3 separate regions of the Homo sapiens genome follow, and all the other regions are linked to region 3. Evidence: promoter capture Hi-C in human tissues and cell types (Jung and others, 2019). All regions are on one chromosome and are shown on one strand. The core of a region is centred on a gene start or on the middle of the fragment in contact, and the rest is flanking DNA. Distances in the headings are between cores, read along the strand shown. Region 1 holds the start of C11orf86 (chromosome 11 open reading frame 86). Region 2 overlaps RIN1 (Ras and Rab interactor 1). Region 3 holds the start of RBM14 (RNA binding motif protein 14).

What was found. The method cuts DNA at HindIII sites, captures the fragments that hold promoters and counts their contacts. A contact is called where the count stands out against the background at its distance.
Region 1: a contact is called between the fragment with the promoter of C11orf86 here and the fragment with the promoter of RBM14 in region 3, in 3 of the 25 tissues and cell types used here (adrenal gland, dorsolateral prefrontal cortex and heart left ventricle).
Region 2: a contact is called between a fragment that was not itself captured here and the fragment with the promoter of RBM14 in region 3, in 1 of the 25 tissues and cell types used here (thymus).

What each region holds. Positions count from the first base shown.
Region 1 is chr11:66,974,025-66,976,724 of GRCh38, forward strand. C11orf86 (chromosome 11 open reading frame 86) reads left to right here and starts at 1,280. Exons shown (of 2, transcript NM_001353554.2): 1 at 1,280-1,614; 2 at 2,153-2,700. The coding sequence starts at 1,339. The coding sequence ends at 2,227. RefSeq lists an enhancer at 1,961-2,464. The HindIII fragment of the contact is 14,679 bases long and covers 1-2,700 here.
Region 2 is chr11:66,329,988-66,332,700 of GRCh38, forward strand. RIN1 (Ras and Rab interactor 1) reads right to left here. Exons shown (of 10, transcript NM_004292.3): 10 at 254-2,713. The coding sequence ends at 2,289. Among named protein-coding and RNA genes, the nearest start is that of RIN1, 5.1 kb to the right of the region's middle. The HindIII fragment of the contact is 6,220 bases long and covers 1-2,713 here.
Region 3 is chr11:66,615,189-66,617,919 of GRCh38, forward strand. RBM14 (RNA binding motif protein 14) reads left to right here and starts at 1,442. Exons shown (of 3, transcript NM_006328.4): 1 at 1,442-1,869. The coding sequence starts at 1,533. RBM14-RBM4 (RBM14-RBM4 readthrough) reads left to right here and starts at 1,442. Exons shown (of 2, transcript NM_001198846.2): 1 at 1,442-1,869. The coding sequence starts at 1,533. RefSeq lists enhancers at 918-1,027, 1,392-2,325, 1,458-1,687. The HindIII fragment of the contact is 10,275 bases long and covers 1-2,731 here.

The sequences.
Region 1 (2,700 bases), core at 30-2,529, 360 kb after region 3:
CTTGCTGTGTGCCAAGCCCTGTGGACCACATTTAATACGCACAACAATTACCCAAGTTATTTGTCCCTCTTACGAATGAAGGAGAAAAATGTGCCCAAGGTCACAAGGCTGCAAGGAATGAAGCTACAGTTTACCCAGAGGCAGTTGGTCCTCAGAGCTTGAGTGCTCAAGGATAGTGCTGTGCTGCTGGGACATTAGGGGCAGCGCTGGGCCTGGAAAAAATCCAGGCCTCCTGACTCCTAGCCTGGAGCCGTCCTGTTTCCTTCTGTTTCTTAAAAAAAAAAAAAAAAAAAAAGAAATTCTCCAGTATTGTATAACACATATACCATAAAGTTTACCATTTCAACCATTGTTGTGCAACCAATCTCTGGAACTCTTCATCTTATGAAATCTGAAAATTTACAGCCATTAAATTCTTCATTCCTCCCTCCCCCAGTGCCTGGCAACGGCCATCCTCCTTGCTGTCTTTGTGAATGTGATTGTTCTAGCTTGGAGCCATACTGATGCTTTTTTGAAAAATATATTTCTTTTTGAGACGCAGTCTTGCTCTGTCACCCAGGTTGGGTGCAGTGGCACAATCTCGGCTCACTGCAACCTCCGCCTTCTGGGTTCAAGTGATTCTCCTGCCTCAGCCTCCTGAGTAGCTGGGATTACAGGCGCCCGCCACCATGCCCAGCTAATTTTTTGTATTTTTAGTAGAGACGGGGTTTTACCATGTTGGCAAGGCTGGTCTGGAACTCCTGATCTCAGGCAATCTGCCTGCCTCGGCCTCTCAAAGTGCTAGGATTACAGGCGTGAGCCACCGGGCCTGGCCCAATTCTTAAAAGGCTGTCTCTGTTTGGTTGTTAAGCCATGGTGCTCAGTGTCAATGGATGCCGGGGCCATAGAGATTCAGAGGAGAACAAACTCTTCAGGGATGAGGTAGTCAGGGAAGCTGCCTAGAGGAGAAGGAGGAGAAGGAGGAGGGGGGAGGGAGAGGGGAGGGGAAGGAAGGGGGAGGGGAGGGGAGAAGGAGGGGGGAGGATGGGGGAGGAGGGAGGGGGGAGAGGAGGGGAGGGGGAGGGGAGGGGGAGGGGGGAAGGATAGGTGAAGGAGGGAGTGGCAATTTCCTCCCCTTGGCCTTCACTCCTTGACCCAGAAGGTGGGGAGGCAGTGGTGAGGTGACTCAGGGATGCTTGGCCCTGTGGCCTGCCCTTTGATTTATGAAAGCCACCTTGGCAGCACCAACCTTTGCCCCCAGTGATCTCTTGTCAGATGGGTGGAGGCACTGGGCCACCTCAGAGGGCCAGTGTCTTGCTGAGGGGCCGGAGCAGTCCTGTGCCTGCAGCCTCCGGAGCCATGGGAACAGGGCTGCGAAGTCAGTCCTTGCGAGAGCCCCGACCCTCCTATGGAAAGCTGCAGGAGCCCTGGGGGAGGCCCCAGGAGGGCCAACTCCGCAGGGCGCTAAGCCTCAGACAGGGGCAAGAGAAGTCCAGGTCCCAGGGCCTCGAGAGAGGCACAGAAGGGCCAGATGCCACTGCCCAGGAGCGGGTGCCGGGGAGCCTGGGGGACACAGAGCAGCTGATCCAAGCCCAGCGAAGAGGCAGCCGGTGGTGGCTGAGGCGGTACCAACAGGTATGGCTGTGGGCTGAAGGATGGAGGGTACCACAGCAGGTGGGCAGGGATTCCAGGGCAGGAAAGGTTCAGAGACAGAGCCAGCCCAGGCTGTGTACCAAGATGACAACCGAGCTGCCTGGAGATGAGGGTGCAGAGAGAGACACCCCAGAGCCACGTTTCAGAGGGCCCTGAAGGCATTTGGGATTTATCCCACAGGCACTGGGGAGCCACTGAAGGTTTTAGAGGAGGAGGGTGATATGGTAAGCGCTGTTTTTAGCTGATTGATAGTATGCTGGATGGGGGAATAGAGCAGGAGGCAAGGAGATCAGCCAGTGCAACTTCCTGGGAAGTACACTGTGTGACCCTCTCACCCCAGAGAAAAAGGGGAGATCTGGACCCCTTTGTGGGGGGCTGCAGGCTCCCTCCTCTAAGAGACAGGGTCTCCAATGAGCAGTGCTTCTCTACCTGGGGTCTACCCCCACCTCGTGGCTATGGGTGGAACAACATCTAAGCCCACCACTCAGCCCATGGGACCTCCCCCACCTCTGTCTTCCAGCAGGTAAGAAGAAGGTGGGAGAGCTTTGTCGCCATCTTCCCCAGCGTGACTCTGAGTCAGCCGGCCTCCCCGTAGCCCACACTGGGCACCATCAGCTAAAGATGCTGGAAGCCATCGTGGCCCCCTTGCTGTGCCTGGACCAGCCCACCGTGTCTGCTGACCTACCTCTTCACAGCTCTCTGGACTTTGGCTGGGTGGCCCTAGGAGGCTTCTGCCACCAGCTCACTGGAGTCGCCACGTGGCTGCCACTCTTAGCTCTGGCCCTTCCACTCCAGCACTAGCTCTCTTTGAAGATCCCAGCAGGGTCAAAAAGAAGGGGGCTCAGCTGTCTGCCCTCTGGGCTTGGGTAGGGGCCTTGGACTATGATTCTATGAAGGTTTAGAAGAAGCCTGCCCGGAATGGGGGCTGTGGACGCTCCTGCCCCACACGACCAGCTGTCAACTTCCAGGACGGAGCTTGATGAAGCCAGACCCATGGCCGAGAGGCTCACGGACGTTGCCTGGTCACTGGGCCATGACCCAACTGCCCTTCTTGTCAGTTGCTGATGG
Region 2 (2,713 bases), core at 30-2,529, 290 kb before region 3:
CAGGGAGGGGGTCAGGTCATGCTGAGCCTGGCAAGGGTGGGAAGGGCTTGTAGAGGCCCCAGAGCCTCATTCCCATGAGGCCAGTTGTACATCCGGCCCCTGGGATCCTCCGAGCACCCTCTACAAACATTCCAGGTCCTTCCTCTGGGACTGAGCTTGACACATCCCGTGTTTGATTCCCAGAACCGAGTCCTCCCTTATACTCCCCAGGTTTCTGCCTCACTGTCCCTCACTCCTGGTTATCAAACTCCAATCAGTGAACAACATTTATTGAACACCTATGGCATTTGTGCTCAGCATTGGACTGTGTGAGGCACTAGGGGTGAGTGGTGAAACAGGGAGGGGAATAGAAGAGCCAACGGGACACTTCCTATCAGCGAGAACCTTGGGAGGGCGTGGAAGTGGGGAGGGAAGAGCTGCTGGTGGCCTAGTGACAAAAAAAATGGGAGCCGTGCAACTGGGCTGTATCTGGACTGCTCATCTGAAAGTCAATGTCTGGCTGGGTGTGGTAGCTCACGCCTGTAATCCCAGTACTTTGGGAGGCCAAGGCGGGCGGATCACCTGAGGTCGGGAGTTTGAGACCAGCCTGGCCAACATGGGGAAACCCCGTCTCTACTAGTAACACAAAAATTAGCCAGGTGTGGTGGTGCACACCTGTAGTCCCAGCTACTCGGGAGGCTGAGGCAGGAGAATCACTTGAACTGGGAGGCGAAGGTTGCTGTGAGCCGAGATGGCACCACTGCACTTTAGCCAGAGCGACAGAGCAAAACTCCATCTCAAACAAACAAACAAACAAAAAAACCCAAAAAGCCAATGTCCACGATTTCTACCTCCCAGTTGTCATGTCTGACATTTGGGCTGACGTCCCCTCTGTGCTCAGTGCCCGAGGAGAGAGCCTCTGGGGTCATCCTCCATAAGGGGACAATTCCTTCCTTCCTGGGGATGGCCCCCAAGAGGCTGGCCTTACCCAGACCCCAGAATCTAAGGGACCTGGGGGCCAGTGGCCTTGGCCCCTGCGCTGTCCCCAGGTTGCCTGATGCTGCTGGACTGCAAGGCCCGGGACCCCCTCTGCTGCTGCAGCCTTGGAGGCGCCCTCACCCCTGGGTGGTCACCCTCTCGGCAGATTCCCGGGCCGTGCACACCCCCTCGTGGTTGGTGGTCGGCACTTTTCCTTGTTTGGATTTGCTGCCTGCTCTGGGCTTCCTTGGGGGCTGCCCCGGCCTTTGTGGGTGGCTTAGAATGGAGGGTGGAGTTGGAACCTGATGCCCTGGTTTGGGCGGGGGAACCCTTAAGGACTTGCTATATGACATCCTGGGAGTCACTTTCCTGACCCTCAGTGGGCCCAACAAGTCATGGCCAAGTAAAGCTTTTGTGAGGGCCAAGAGTTTAGTGCAGAGAGCATGGTTTCTGAGCCCCCTCTCCATTCTGGAAGCTTATCTGCCAGCTGGTGGATCTCCCCAGAGATGCTGGAGGGCCTGGGAGGACTCCAAATCTTGGGGAGAGACTGTAACTTGGGTACTTTCTCCCCAGGGCCTGATTTCCAGGGGAATAACCTCCCTGAACTGGGCATCAGCAGGTGGGAGCCCTGTCTGGCAGAGAGCGGACTCCGGGAGAGAGTTAGCAGCCCAGCTCTCTCCCTCCCTTTCTGCCATGAGCTCTGCTTGTAGCAAAATCACCCATTTTGATCACTGGGACACTTCTGGGAGCCGAGCAGGGCAGCAATAGTGTCCCCACTTTACAGATGAGAGTACTGAGGCTTGCAGGTGCAGGTCCTTCTGGTGTCCAGGACAGGGGTGGGCCCCAAGCCTTTGCTGCTGTTCTGTGGCCTCTCTAAATCCTCCTGACACCTAAGAGCCATTGGAACCTTTTAGGGTCTGGAAGTCCCAGCCTGGTGGGAGATACTTGGGTGGAGCCCTGCCTCAGCCATGCCCATGAGGGGAAGGGTAAAAGGAGCTGAGACCGTCACCCTCCCCACGTCAGAGGTTGGGCATCTGTCGGATTCGCCCCCACTTGGCACACCCTCATTGCAGGCTGGCTCACCCTCAGCTGGGGGAGAAGAACAAGAGGCAAGGGGCCTTGGGCACACAGTCTGGGGGCCCCCGAAGCCCCCTCATCTTTATTCCAGTTCCTCAGATGTGGCAGTTCCCCCAGCTTCCCTGGAAACAAGTATCAGACAAAGGTGGTGGCAGACACAGGACAGGGCCCTGGGTGGGGCTTGCTGGCGCTAAAAGGATTTCTCAGCAGGCTCAGGGTCTCCCGCCCCGAATGACCCTTCTGGCCACTTCAAGCTACTCCTCTGCTGCCCGGCTTCCCTCTGCCTCTGGTTCCCCTGGCTGAGCAGGGCCTTCCTGGGCTTGACCCTGGCCCCCTTCAGCAGTTGTCTCAGACTGTTCCCGAATGTCCCTGGGGCTGGCTTTGACCCCAGCATCCCCATCTCCCTGGCACCCTTGCTCCTCCCCTCTGCTTCTTGCCTCTGACTGCCCACTGCCCTCCTCCTCTGTCACAGCCCCCTGGGTCTCAGGCCACTCCGCCCGGCGGTAGACGAGGTAGCCAGTGGTGGGCAGCCTGTGGGCCAGGGCCCCAGGGGGCAGGCGGTGGTAGCCCTGCTCCTTGTACAGGAAGAGGCCAAAAGTGTTGGGCTGGGTCACTCGGAACTTGGTGGCACAGAGCTGGTTCAGGGTGGCAATCGAGGCTTCTGGGGGCACGGCCAGGG
Region 3 (2,731 bases), core at 192-2,691:
AGTGCTGGGATTACAGGCGTGAGCCACCGGGCCTGGCCCATACTGGCTCTTGACTCTTCCTTGAACCAGATTTGCTTCTGCCCCAGCACTCTTTGACTTGTACTTTCTGGCCGGCATGATCTTCCCTCAGAGGATGGCTTAGTTCCCTTGATTACTCCAAGTCCTCATCACCATCTAACACGCTTATGTTTTACTTATTTCTTGCCTGTTTCTCCCCACCATAAGATCCAAGAAGGTTGGGATTTCTGTCATTTTTTTTTGTTCACTGCTATATTCTTGGTGGTGTCCACATGGTAGGTGCTATTTGTTGACTGAACACGTAGGCAAATATTTCCCTGAGTTTGTCACATGTCTATGTTTTTGATGTTGTCTGCCATGCAACAATCTTATTTACATACTCAAATCTGTTTAAAAAAATTTTTGAGACGGAATCTCACTGTCGCCCATGCTGGAGTGCAGTGGCGTGATCTTGGCTCACTGCAACCTCCGCCTTCCGGGTTCAAGTGATTCTCCTGCCTCAGCCTCCCAAGTAGCTGGGATTACAGGCGCGCACCACCACACCCGGCTAATTTTGTATTTTTAGTAGAGACGGGGTTTCACCATTTTGGCCAGGCTGGTCCTGAACTCCTGACCTCCGGTGATCTGCTTGCCTTGGTCTCCCAAAGTGCTGGAATTACAGGCGTGAGCCACCGCTCCCGGACTAAAATTTTTTTTAAGGCTCAACTTTTGCTTCCTGCAGAATTAATTTTCTCGTTTATTAAACTGTTTATTATGAAAACCTTCAACATACAATAACGTCATTCCATTATTTCTTGACTGGGAATTCCATCAGGGCAGAGGCCTTTGATTTTTCACCGGCTGCCAGGACCTCAGCAACCCCAGGGAATGTTTCCAAAGAATCAATTAATGGCACGAGGGCTTCTCCGGGGCCTGCCTCAGGTCCCCTCGCGGTGCTCAGCACAGTCCTGGGAGCCGTTTGCCGACTCAAGGCGCCTGTCCTGGTTTCTCCCGCCAGGCCCGGCCTTCCCCCGTACACTCACGCGGCAACCCCCAGGCGCGGGTTTGGACAGGGCTTCCAGAATGGGAGGAGCCCTGACTTCCAATTGTACAAAGTTTTCCTGGGAGCCCGCCGGTCCCAGCCCCACCCGGGCCAGAGACCGCCTTACAGACTAGGCCTCTCTGCCGCCGGCGCCGCTCGCGCGCGTTCTCCTCTCTTCAGCCCTCCCTCTTCTTCCCAACCCCCTCTCCCGCCACGGGCTGTGGCGGTTGGTCGTCCCTTTCCCACCCCCTCAGCTAACGAGCGGGCTCTAGGCCCTCTGGGATTGGCTGTGCCTGAGCACATCTTCCCTCAGCGTTTCTGATTGGTCGCTGGACGCGCGGGATGCGAGTCCCCATTGGCTAGGCCAGGGCGCCTGCGCGGCGGGGTTCTCGGTCGCCAGCCATTCCTGAGGAGGACTGCCGGTCGTTCGGACGTCTTGCCTGTCGCTGGAGGAGAGGTCCGGGCTCTCCAGGAAGGTGGCTGCGGCGACAAAATGAAGATATTCGTGGGCAACGTCGACGGGGCGGATACGACTCCGGAGGAGCTGGCAGCCCTCTTTGCGCCCTACGGCACGGTCATGAGCTGCGCCGTCATGAAACAGTTCGCCTTCGTGCACATGCGCGAGAACGCGGGCGCGCTGCGCGCCATCGAAGCCCTGCACGGCCACGAGCTGCGGCCGGGGCGCGCGCTCGTGGTGGAGATGTCGCGCCCAAGGCCTCTTAATACTTGGAAGATTTTCGTGGGCAATGTGTCGGCTGCATGCACGAGCCAGGAACTGCGCAGCCTCTTCGAGCGCCGCGGACGCGTCATCGAGTGTGACGTGGTGAAAGGTAACGCGGAGGCGCGCTCGGGGGCGGGGGCGCGCTCGGGGCACTCTGCCTGTTAGCCACGCCCCTTACCCGGGGGTCGGTCACTGCGCGGTTGGGAGGGGTGGGGAAGTGCGCGGGAGCAGGTCGGAGGTGTTGGGGGCGCGTTGGGTAGAGCCACCCTCCTCCCCTGCGGTCCAGGAACCGTCCACCAAGTAGGAGGAAGCGGCTCTGGGTGGGTGCGGCGGCCACTGCGAGCCAAGCTACGGGGCCGGGGACGCGCCTGAGAGCCTTGCGAGTGTTCCGGGGGCGCGCCTTCTCCTGGTCTCCTGGGCCTGGCACCCAGCGGAAATTGGGAAGTGACGGGCACAAGCCGGATCATGAAGCGGGGAAGATTTCTCCACTTCCCCACTTCCTCTCCAGACGTCGGTCAGAGCAAGGGAAGAGGGAAAAGGTGGGGGCTGACGCCCCAAGGCCGCCCTCCTGTTCCCTCCCGATGAATGTGCTCAAGCGGAAGGTAACGGGGCCCTTGGACGTTTCTCGGGCTGGGGTCTTTTAGTCTTGTCTGGCATGGGTCTACTCATGGGCACAGTTACACGTGGGTACGAGAGGGGCCCCTTCCGAATCACTTTGGCCTTTCAATATTAGGTAGGTTAGGCGTGGCAGCTCTGTGCTTTTCTCCTCCCTCAAACTTGGGGTTTTTCTTTGGGCTCGATTTTACATCTGTCAACTGGAAACCCCAGCCTTTTGCATGTGCAAGAAAGCTTGTTTTATGAAGTCCCCTTCTGCGTAGTCTTTACATGCCAAGCCAGTGCCCTAGGGCAGTGTCATTCTTTTATAAGCTTGGTGACTTTGCAGGGGGGCATACTCTGGCTGAGGGGGTCCT